Linked DNA regions of Homo sapiens: region 2 is linked to region 1. Evidence: promoter capture Hi-C in human tissues and cell types (Jung and others, 2019). All regions are on one chromosome and are shown on one strand. Each heading gives the region's core, a stretch centred on a gene start or on the middle of the fragment in contact. The rest is flanking DNA. Distances are from core to core; before and after follow the strand shown.

The links. Contacts are between HindIII fragments. The study calls those that stand out against the background at their distance.
Region 2: a contact is called between a fragment that was not itself captured here and the fragment with the promoter of CNTLN in region 1, in 1 of the 25 tissues and cell types used here (small bowel).

What each region holds. Positions count from the first base shown.
Region 1 is chr9:17,132,308-17,138,369 of GRCh38, forward strand. It overlaps CNTLN (centlein), which reads left to right and starts at 2,733. Exons shown (of 26, transcript NM_017738.4): 1 at 2,733-3,118. The coding sequence starts at 2,759. RefSeq lists an enhancer at 3,014-3,577. The HindIII fragment of the contact is 19,584 bases long and covers 1-6,062 here.
Region 2 is chr9:16,875,391-16,881,452 of GRCh38, forward strand. No RefSeq gene overlaps it. Among named protein-coding and RNA genes, the nearest start is that of BNC2, 7.8 kb to the left of the region's middle. The HindIII fragment of the contact is 4,359 bases long and covers 425-4,783 here.

The sequences.
Region 1 (6,062 bases), core at 1,483-3,982:
CATTGCTTATGGGAAGGTAAAATGACACAACCACTGTGGAAAAGAGTTTGGTGATTCCTCAGTAAATTAAACATATGACCTAGACATTCTACTCATAGGTATATAAACAAAAAATTGAACATAAATGTTCAGACAAAAACCTGTACGTGAATGTTTATAGCAGCTCTGTTCACAATAGGCAAAAGGCAGAAAGAACCCAAAGGTCCATTAACAGATGAATGGATAAACAAAATGGAGGATATCCATACAATGGTATATTTTCAGCTATAAAAAAGAATGAAGTACTAATACATGCCATAACATAGATGAACCTTGAAAACATTATGCTAATAAAAGAAAACAGACACAAAAGGCCACATATTATATGGTTCCATTGATATGAAATATCCCAAACAGGCAAAACCGTAGAGACATAAAGGGAATTAATGGTTGCTTGGGGCTCGGGGGCAGTGAGAATGTGGAGAGACTAATGTGGGTATGTGGTTTCCGCCTCCGGTGATGAAAATATTCTGGAACCAGATAGTGGTGGTGGTTGCCTAACATGGTGAATGTAGTTAATGCTGCTGAATTGTTTTTTATTTGTAGCCATTTTATTTATTTATTTATTTTTTGAGACAGTCTTGCTTTATCACCCAGGCTGGAGTGCAGTGGTATGATCTTGGCTGTTTGCAACCTCTGCCTCCCGTGTTCCAATGATTCTCCTGCCGTGGCCTCTCTAGTAGCTGGGATTACGGGAATGCACCACCACTCCCAGCTAATTTTTGTATTTTTAGCAGAGACGGGGTTTCACTATGTTGTCCAGGCTGGTCTCGAACTCCTGGTCTCAAGTGATCCACCAGCCTCGGCCTCCCAAAGTGCTGGGATTGCAGTCGTGAGCTACCACGCCTGGCCTATTTGTAGCCATTTAAAATGCCTACGATGGTAAATTTTATGTTGTGTATTTTGTGTATTTTGCTCCAATAAAGACAAAATTTAAAAAAATGCCTAGTCAAAGAGTCAGGATATTATCCTTTTGGGAGGTCACATATACATATTTATACCACTGCTTTTCAAAAGGATCTTTTTATGATCAGGTGAAATGATGTCCTTTTGAGTGAATGACATACAGCAATTAAAAATGTGCATTAATACTGATTTGGGGCCAAACACGTAACTTATGTGGTTAGACTTCCCAGTCTTAAGTCTAGTGAAATCTCACAGACTATCAAGACCAAATGTTGTATTTCAAGTCACAGGTGTGGAGACAGGGTAGCGATCAAAGTACAGGTTTTCAGAGTTAAGTGGAATTCAGTGAATTCAAAGCCTAGCTTTTCTGATACCAGACATGGCACTTCAGAGAAGTTACAGTAACCTTGCAAGTCTGTTTCCTCACTAGTAAAAATGGAGATATATAATAATCTAATTGAAGGTGACATATGTATTAAGTGAGTTCATATATGAAAAGTGCTTAGCACTGGACTCAGCATATGGTAAATGTTCAGTAGGTTAGCTAGTTCTAAGACAGGCTTATAAACATACTTTTTCTAATGTACTCTTTAATAAGTTTTTGTGAGGAATTCACCTTCAGTTTGAAAGAAGTCCACTTATCTTGGTTGCCTTGGCAGGATTCTAATTGGGAGGGTGTCTTTTGGCATCCTGACTAGATTCTCATGCAGAGATGGTGATATTTTGGTTAAATGAAGTTAACAGTAAAGTGGTCATCTCTCTACTTCTGCTCTCAACCCCCATCTCAGCTTTCCCCAAGTATTCTGGAACCCTTTCTGAAGAAGAGGGCAGTTCTAACTTTCAGGGATGTTCTGGTGCCAGCTCAATATGCATCTCATTAATCTTATCAATAGTAACAAAGTATTTGAAGGGCAAAGAAAGATACGATTACTACCTATTTGAAGTTTATAAAGAAAGCCAGAAGAAAAAGAAAAAAAAGAGAACAAAAGATAAAGTAGGTCTTGTTTCTTCATCCACGCTCCAAATTACTGATTTCAAACTGCTCCAAGGACCCAAACTGTTCAGCAATGTGGGCTACACTTCCTCTGATATCCAGCCAACGCATAAAGAAGCTGACATAAAAACTCAAAGGAAATCATGACTCCTGCAAAACAAAAGACAAAGGGTGTACAAAGGATCATCATTCAAGTTGGAAACCTGCTTGATAGTCCCAGATCAGCACAAGGCTTTCCACATCTCCTTGACATTAGTCAGCTGGATGTCAGCTGTACTAAAGCAGTTTTGCCAAGGGGTGTGAAGAAAACACTTAAGTGTAAAACGTATTCCTTGATCCTCAAGGAGCTTACAACAGGGCTGGGGAGATTAGCCGTGTAACTGACACTCCAGGGCGGTCAATGAAACGTGTCACACGAGTTGGCAGGGGCCTTGAAGGAGAGGGATTTCACAGTTAAGGATCATTTGGGGCTGGGGGCTTGTCAAGGAAGGCTTTAAGAGGTGGGATGTAAGTGGCAGGCAGGGCTTTAGGTGGGCGGGAAATCCAGGCGATCCTGGCCAAGGACTCAGGCACAGGACGCTGGGATGGCCTGCCCGGCGGACCGGCCTTACCCTTTCGGGCCACGGCGCGTGCGTACCCCAAGGCTCGCGCTGGGCGCATTGCCCGCGGGAAGCCGGCCAGGACCAGAGAACACGGGACACCGCGGGCCAAGGCGGGAAAAGCCTCGCGCATGCGCGGTTCGGCGTTCCGGGCTCGCCGGGTTGGGGAAAGGGAGGTGGAGTTTCCAACAGGGAACTTGACCCGTTAGCAGCCGCAGCCATGGCGGCGCGTTCGCCTCCCTCACCGCACCCTTCGCCCCCAGCGCGACAGCTGGGCCCCAGGTCCCCACGTGTTGGGCGGGGAGCTGAAGTACACGCAATGCGCAGCGAGGCCTCGGGTTTTGCCGGCGCAGCGCGGGAGGTGGTCGCGGACGAAAGTGATAAAATCTGGGTGGGTGAAGAAGGGTCAGGGGGCCGGCGAGGGCCTGGGGGGGCAGCTCCGGCTCATGCTCCCCTCCTCAGCGCGCCCATGGGGTCCAGACGGCTAGAGGGCATCTCGGTAGAGGAGGCGATGGTGACCCGGACGCAGCTGCTGGAGGAAGAGCTGAGCAGCCTAAAGGAGGAGTTGGCCCTGTGTCAGGTATCGAGGAGTCTCGCAGTCCCCCTTTCCCCACCACAGCGGGGCCGGGACCCGTGGGGAGGCGCGCCTTTCTCCCTCTGCCTTGGGACCTACCCCGCCCAGCGACGCTCCCTGGCAGATGCACACCCTGCTTCGCTCGCGGCCGGGGGCTGGAGGGACGCGGCTGCGCCCGGCTCCCCAAACCCGGGCCCCTGCCCCTTTCCGAACTGCGGCCAGACAGGCTTCGCCTCCGCGCCCGGGTTTGGTTTTGGTCACTTGGATACTCGCAGTCGCATCCTCTCCGCTTCCCCCCCAAGCCCAAGTTCTTGGTGGTGACGGTAGCTGATACCTGCCGGGGGCCCAGGAGTGACATGCAGTCCACTAGTTGAAATGAACAGGAAAGTGTAAACACTTCGGTTAGAGTAAAATCCATCGATGAAGGAGCCTGTTTTTAAAATTTCAAACCCACACTTGGCTTTGTTTTTACCCAGTCAAACTTAAGTTGTAAACACAGACGAGTAACGTTTAGAAAGTCTCAGAGCCGGGAACTTAACAATAGATGATGCTTGGTACTTGTTTATTAACCAGCTATGGTAATTCCGCGGTCCTTGAGTGAGAAATCACATTTTCATGTGATCTTGCCAGTGAAAAACATTTGCTAAATCAATTGCATTAAAATTACTTTCCTGTTTGTAGAGTTTTTGTAAGGATGGACTTGACTATACTCATGTTCAAAGAGATTGAATTTTCCTTTAGTTTTGCATCCTTACCATCATCTCTTTTGATTTTACCAGAACCTTTAGATAGGGTTGGGAGATTGGATGTGGGAAACTCACTGAACAGTAGATCTTTAAGTCACTCTGTCTTCAACTTAGAAACCAATTAGGAGCTGCTGAACATCAAAGTAACTTTGTGAACAGTATCATCAGTTTAATAAAACAGTTCATGAAATTCATTCTCTGTCGCCCAGGCTGGAGTGCAGTGGTGCAGTCTCAGCTCACTGCAAGCTCCGCCTCCCGGGTTCACGCCATTCTCCAGCCTCAGCCTCCCGAATAGCTGGGACTACAGGTGTCCGCCACCACGCCTGGCTAATTTTTTGTATTTTTAGTAGAGATGGGGTTTCACCGTGTTAGCCAGGACAGTCTCGATCTCCTGACCTCGTGGTCCGCCAGCCTTGGCCTTCCAAAGTGCTGGGATTACAGAAATTCATTCTCTCATAGTTTGTTCTGTTGGATTCTTTTGCCCATTTTATAGGTCCTTGCTGACTGAGTGAAGGGTGTAAAAATGGGACCATCTTCAAATTGAATGTGCCTTTGGTTAAACAAGGTTGGGACATTTAATATGGTGCCCTCTTTTCGTTTTACCATTTTTCTGTTCTTCGTTGGATAAGGAGCAAAGGGATAAATAAATGACAACAATGAATTGAAGCATTTGTCATCTGCAGACCTCACCCTTTGGGGAGTTTTAAGATGTGAACCCATGATAAAGGCCTTTGATACTCTGAGTCCTAATCTAAGACACTCTTTGGCATATTTTCCGCACTCTTTCCTCCCACTTCTGCCTCCCCACATAGTTAGGCCTTTAGCTGGCTAAAGAGCTAAGATACTTTTTTATGACCGACTTGGTTAAGGAAGTCAGTCTATTGGAAACAGCCTGATGAACCTCTTCCCACAAATACTTACATTCTTTAAAAATGTGGCTCCAAACATGGTGTTGGCTTTTGTGACCTCGGACATATATAGACTAGGAAAATGATTGACATACTCTTGGCAAATGTAAGAATACAGAGATGGTCATAATAGTCTAGAATGATGATCTCTTAGATTTTGTAATATTAATACTCTTATATAATTGTAGGCAGTATCCCGCACCATAAAAATCTTAGTCAAATCAGACTCCTGCTCTTCGGGAATCTTGGGGAAAAATAGTAATTGAACTCCCAATTGTTTTGTAAAAAGCATTTAGGTGATTAAATATTCACTTTTATATCTTTTAAAGTATACTCTCCCGCTTATTTATTCAGCTAGAGATCACAGTACCCAAGAATACATAGCATTAAAACTGCTGAAAATTACAACTCGAAGTAAAATTTTGTATCTCAATCTAGTAAGTACACACATATACAAACATATATTTTCAGAAAGAATACATGCCCTAATACTGTGTGGGCTGATATTTTTTCAGTTCTATTCCTTTAAAAAATGCTGTCCAGATCTAAATTAATTTCAGAACCCAACAAGGCTTGAAACATACAGTTTAGGAAAAAGAACACTGCTAATTAGTCCATGGTCATAAGTAGTAGCTTCATTTAATTTGTTTTGCTTTCACATTCAACTTATGGGAATTCAGTGATGTGTGCTTGGTGAAGTTTGAGTAATTCCCCATACCATTCTACATCATTGGAATGCCTCAGAATAAGCATGTAATAGAAAGCAATCAAATGTTTCTCTTAATATCAGCATCTCATCCCACTCTAAGTGATTGTATTATCTAATTAAACTTTAAAAAAATATGGCCCCCTGATTAGCAACTGAACTATAAATAATGCTTATATGAAGAAAAAGTGATTAATTTCAATGAGGGAAGAAAAGCTATCTGTATTGGACTTACTGAGGGTAGTAGGTAAGCTTCCAAATGTAGCTTTTTCCTAAGGAATTTTTCAAGGGTGTTCCAAAGGGTAATTTTGCATCCATGGCATTTAATGCCCTATTTCACTAATTTAGAACCTAACTCCACTACACTTTTAATTTTGATTATATATTTCAAGAATGTGTTCTGTTTGTGATAAAGGATGCTGGGGCATGTGTATTTGTACATTTATCACCATTTATAGAGTGAGATGAGAAAAAAGTGTTATGTTTACATAGAAAGAGTAATATGTTTATATAGCATTTATAAAGCTTATTTTTTGGTATCAGGCAAAAATATTGACTAAACCTATAAGCCAGTTTTAGGAAAAAAATTA
Region 2 (6,062 bases), core at 1,354-3,853, 260 kb before region 1:
CCCTTTTAGGAGGTCCATGAAGTCAAAACTATTTTTATTACAATACTGGGAAATTATTTGCTTTTCTTACATTCTCTCCTGTGTGTACAGTGGAGTTTTCCAATGACACTGTAACAGGTGGTATCACAACAGACTGAATGCAGAACCAGATACGAGAACCCACCTGTCTTAATCAGCTGTTAAAGAAATGTGCCAAAAATGTAAATCAGTGCACTCCTCTTCTCGCTTTTTTTCTTTTTGTGATGGAATCTCTCTGTGTCGCTCAGGCTGGAGTTCAGTGGCGCAATCTCGGCTCACTGCAACCTCCGCCTCCCAGGTTCAAACAATTCTTCTGCCTCACCCTCCCGAGTAGCTGGAACTACAGGTGCGTGCCACATCCGGCTAGTTTTTGTATTTTTAGTAGAGACGGGGTTTCATCATTTTGGCCAGGCTAGTCTCAAACTCCTGACCTCAAATGATCCACCCACCTCGGCCTCTCAAAGTGGAATTACAGGCGTGGGCCACCGCACCGATCCTGTTTTTGTTTTTCATTTTAAAATGTGAGTATATATTCATTTCCTGTAGCTGCCATTGTGTCCGGAATTCGTGGATTCTTACTCTGACTTCAAGAATGAAGCCGCGGACCCTCACGGTGAGTGTTACGGTTCTTAAAGATGGCGTGTCTGGAGTTTGTTGCTTTTGACGTTCAGATGTGTTTGGCGTTTCTTCCTTCTGGTGGGTTCATGGTCTTGCTGGCTCAGGAGTGCAGCTGCAGACCTTCGCGGTGAGTGTTACAACTCTTAAGGCAGGGCCTCTGGAGTTGCTTGTTCCTCCCAGGGGGTTCGTGGTCTCACTGGCTTCAGGAGTGAAGCTGCACACCTTCGCAGTGAGTGTTATAGCTCATAAAGGCAGTGTGGACCCAAAGAGTCAGCAGCAGCAAGATTTATTGCAAAGAACAAAGCTTCCACAGGGTGGAAGGGGACCCAAACCGGTTGCCCCTGCTGGCTCGGGCAGCCTGCTTTTATTCTCTTATCTGGCCCCACCCACATCCTGCTGATTGGTCCATTTTACAGAGAGCTGATTGGTCTGTTTTACAGAGAGCTGATTGGTCTGTTTTGACAGGGTGCTGATTGGTGCAGTTACAATCCTTGAGCTAGACACAAAAGTTCTCCACCTCCCCACTAGATTAGCTAGATACAGAGTGTCAATTGGTGTATTGACAAACCCTGAGCTAGACACAGAGTGCTGATTGGTGCATTTACAAACTTTGAGCTACATACAGCGTGCCAATTGGTGCATTCACAATCCCTTAGCTAGACATAAAGGTTCTCCAAGTCCCCACCAGATTAACTAGATACACAGTGCCGATTGGTGCATTCACAAACCCTGAGCTAAACACAGGGTGCTGATTGGTGTGTTTACAAACTTTGAGCTAGATACAGAGTGCTGATTGGTGTATTTACAATCCCTTAGCTATACTTAAAGGTTCTCCAAGTCCCCACCAGATTAACTAGATACAGAGTGCTGATTGGTGCACTCACAAACGCTGAGCTAGACACAAGGTGCTGATTGGTGTGTTTACAAAACTTGAGTTAGATACAAAGTGCTGATTGGTGTATTTACAATCCCTTACCTAGACATAAAGACTCTCCAAGTCCCCACCAGACTCAGGAGCCCAGCTGGCTTCACCCATTGGATCCCGCACTGGGCTGCAGGTGGAGCTGCCTGCCAGTCCCGCACCCTGCGGGACTGGGCTCCATGGAGCTGGGAGTGGTGCTCGTCAGGGAGGCTCCGGCTGCACAGGAGCCCATTGGAGGGGCGGGGTGGGCTCAGGCATGGCAGGCTGCAAGTCCCAAGCTCTGCCCGGCTAGGAGGCAGCTAAGGCCCCTAGAGAAATCGAGAAGGAGCACAGCAGCTGCTGGCCCAGGTGCTAAGCCCCTCACTGTCCGGGGCTTGCTGGCCTGCTGGCCGATCCAATTGCGGGCCCGCTGAGACCACACCCACCCAGAACTCGTGCTGGCCCACAAGCGCCACGCGCAGCCCTGGGTTCCCACCTGCACCTCTCCCTCCACACCTCCCGGCAAGCTGAGGGAGCCGGCTCCTGCCTTGGCCATACCAGAAAGGGGCTCCCACGGTGCAGCGGTGGGCCGAAGGGCTCCTCAAGCACAGCCAGAGTGGGCGCCAAGGCCTAGGAAGCGCAGAGAGGGAGTGTGGGCTGCGAGGGCTGCCAGCACGCTGTCACCTCTCACCGTGACAAATTACCACAGATTAAGTGGATTAAACAACACAAATTCATTATAATTTTAGAGGTCAGAAATCTGAAATAGGTTTCACTAAACTAAAACATGTTTGTGAGCCTGTGTTTCTTTTTGGAGTCCCTAGGGGAGAATCTATTTCCTTATTTCTTACAGATTCTAAAGGTCACCCCCAATGCTTGGCTTATGGCCCCCTTCCATCTTCAAAGCCTGTAATAACCAGACATGTCTTTCTCATGCCATACCACTGTGACACTGAGCCTTCTTCCTCCCTCTTTCAATTATAAGTACATGAGTGATTACACTGGGTCTATCTAGATGATGCAGGATAATCTCCCCATCTCAAGATCGTTAATTTAATCATATCTGCATATTCACAGGTTTCAGGGATTAGGATATGAACCATCATTAAGGGTCATTATTCTGTCTACCACAGTATAGTAACAAGTGATGGGTTTAATATTGTTATTTTAAATGAATTAATAACAAATTTTTCTCATAAAATAAACATCAGTAGCTATTGATGTTTATCAACAAAAGCTCTAGGTGGCGTGGTGGCTCACGCATGTAGTCCCAGCACTTTGGGAGGCGGAGGCTGGCAAAGCACCTGAAATCAGGAGTTCGATACCAGCCTGACCAACATGGGGAAACCCTGTGTCTGCTAAAACTACAAAATTAGCTGGGCGTGGTGCTGCATGCCTGTAATCCCAGCTACTCAGGAGGCTGAGGCAGGAGAATCGCTTGAACCCATGAGGCGGAGGTTGCAGTGAGCCGAGACTGTGCCATTGCACTCCAGTCTGGGCAACAAGAGCGAAACTCTGTCTCAAAAAAAAAAAAAAAAAGCTCTTTGAATTCTTCAATAATTTTTAAGACGTCATGAGATCGTGGCTGGGCGTGGTGGCTCACGCCTGTAATCCCAGCACTTTGGGAGCCTGAGGTGGGTGGATTGCCTGAGGCCCGGAATTCAAGACTAGCCTGGCCAGCATGGCAAAACCCCATCTCTACTAAAAATACAAAAATTAGCCGGGCGTGGTGGCGGGCACCCTACTGTAATCCCAGCTATTCGGGAGGCTAAGACAGGAAAATCCCTCGAACCCAGGAGGCAGAGGTTGCAGTGACCCGGGATGACGCCACTGCACTCCAGCCTGGGCGACAGAGCAAGACTCCGTCTCAAAAAAAAAAAAAAAACCAAAGAGATCGTTAGAGAATGGCTGGTGTACACAACAGTTAGTGTCCCTTCCATACCTCAGGTTAAACTAGATTGTTCTAAACCCATTATGGTGGCCCTCTTCCCCCTTGCTGTCATTGGTTTAAGGATGAGCATGTTAGTTCTAGCCAATGAAGGATGAGGAAGTCATTGGAGGGGTGTCAGGGAAAGATTATGCATTAAAACTAAAAAAACCAAAATGGCAAGAAATAGATTGTCCCTTTTCTGCTCTGGATGTTAGTATATGAGACTGTGGTACTTCAAAGCAGCTGCATCCACCTTGTGACCAAAAGGGACCCCACATACCTGGAATGATAGAGTGGGAAGGTGGTAAGCCCCTGAGCTCTTGTTGATGTTACTGACTTACTGAATTAACTAACCCCAGATGGCGTGAAACTTCTTGTTATGTGATATAATCAATCCCCTTATCATTTAGTCTATTTTGAGGTTGCATTTTATTAATTGCAGCTTGAAGCTTTCTAAATTACAGAGAAATGACATGTCTATTTACAGTTTCCATGTAGGAATTCCCTCCTGTCATTTCCTATAAAATTTACATATTTTTTTCCAAATTCTGAGAAAAATCTATGAAGAAATCAGTAAAACGGGAAAAGTATTATCATTTATCATTCCCCTGTGAGAATTAAAAGTTAACAATCAACAGAGACAGTACTAGTTAGCATGAACTCAACAGCAGGAAATGCTGACACAAAGTGGAGTTAAGGTGACATTTTCAGAAGTGGTTACCATCTAATCAGTTAGTTTTATTTGTAGTTGTGGCCACATAAGTGTGTGTTCCTGGCCCCCATCTGCTCCTGTTGATGAGTCATTCTTGCAAATTAAGTAAATGTAAGTTTATTGCATAAAATATTATTTACAAATCCTATGAGTTGTCTTTCAAGAAATAACATGTTTTAGAAACAAAGTAAGTCCTTACATAGACAATTTCAACACACGATTTTGTGTAGTGCTCTTAACTTTTCTAGGAGATCCTGAATGTTACGTTATTCAAATACTACCCAATATATTCACAATGGACTACAGTTCTTGGTAAATAAAAAGAAAAAATATATAAATGTTATGGAAAAAAATATGAATTTTAAAAAGCAATTCAATCTCAGTAGCAAAACAAAAATAAGAGCAGACAAAATATTGTCATCACTAAAAGAGAAAATGAGTTTATACGGAGGAATATATACACTAATGTCAACTTTAGCATGCTTTCTGACTTAATCTTAAAAATCTGACTTCCTCTTATCAATTTGACCAATGTCAACAGGAAATGAAAGAAATTTTCTACCTATGGAAACTTTATCAAGAAACCAAGATCAAGACTATCAGATAGGGCAACTTATGTTTTCTGTTTAAAATGTTTATTTTAACAATGGTAACTTTCTTTTTTTTTTTTTTTTTTTTTTGAGACGGAGTCTCGCTCTGTTGCCCAGGCTGGAGTGCAGTGGCGCAATCTCAGCTCACTTCAAGCTCCGCCTCCCAGGTTCACGCAATTCTCCTGCCTCAGCCTCCCAAGTAGCTGGGAGTACAGGTGCATGCCACCACACCCAGCTAATTTTTTGTATTTCCAGTACAGATGGTGTTTTGCCATGTTGGCGAGGCTGGTCCTGAGCTCCTGACCTCAGGTGATTCACCAGCCTCAGCCTCCCAAAGTGCTGGGATTACAGGCATAAGCCACCGTGTCTGGCTCTTGCCCTGTTTTCCACCATGTCAAGGCAAATTGTAATGTCTTCTTCTCAAGGCTCACTTTTTTTCAACGCCCACACCTTGTACAGTGCCTGGTACCTAATAGTTGTTCAGCAAGTTTGTGTGGAATGAATAAATGATTCACCTTGTTTATACCGTGTTTTTTCCCAACCCAGCAAGAATCCACTGCTCTGCTGGGATAGCCTTCCCTGCACACATGCATAATTATTTCTGTATTTTTCTCTTGACTCTCCAGCTGGATGCACTACTTCCTCTTTAATGATTCGTGTCTGTGCCAACTTAACTACCACCTATTTCCAAAGGTGGATTGAAGCCCCTCTGAAAAAGAGGCACAGCTACATTTAGATCATTTATGATTACAGAATAATTGTACTAAGTATCTGCTATGGGTCAAGTTCTCTATCATTTTCTTTATATTACTGAATCATTCCAACAAACTGCAGAGCCAGGCATTATTATCGCTATCATATGGTTGAGAAAGACTCTGAAGCTTTAACTATCTGGTCTAAGGACTCAGCATGTAGCTGTCCCCCAGGTTTTTTTTTTTTTTTTTTTGAGACGGAGTTTCACTCTGTTGCCCATGCTGGAGTGCAGTGGCGCGATCTCAGCTCACTGCAAGCTCCACCTCCCGGGTTCATGCCATTGTCCCACCTCAGCCTCGGGAGTAGCTGGGACTACAGGCACCCGCCACCATGCCCGGCTTTTTTTTTGTTGTTGTTGTTGCTATTTTTAGTAGAGACGGGGTTTCACTGTGTTAGGATGGTCTCGATCTCCTGACCTTGTGATCCGCCCACTTCGGCCTCCCAAAGCGCTGGGATTACAGGCGTGAGCCACCGCGCCCAGCCAGGTGTCGCCCAGCTCTTAAATCCCGCCTTGCTCTCAAGGACTTGATCAGATTACAC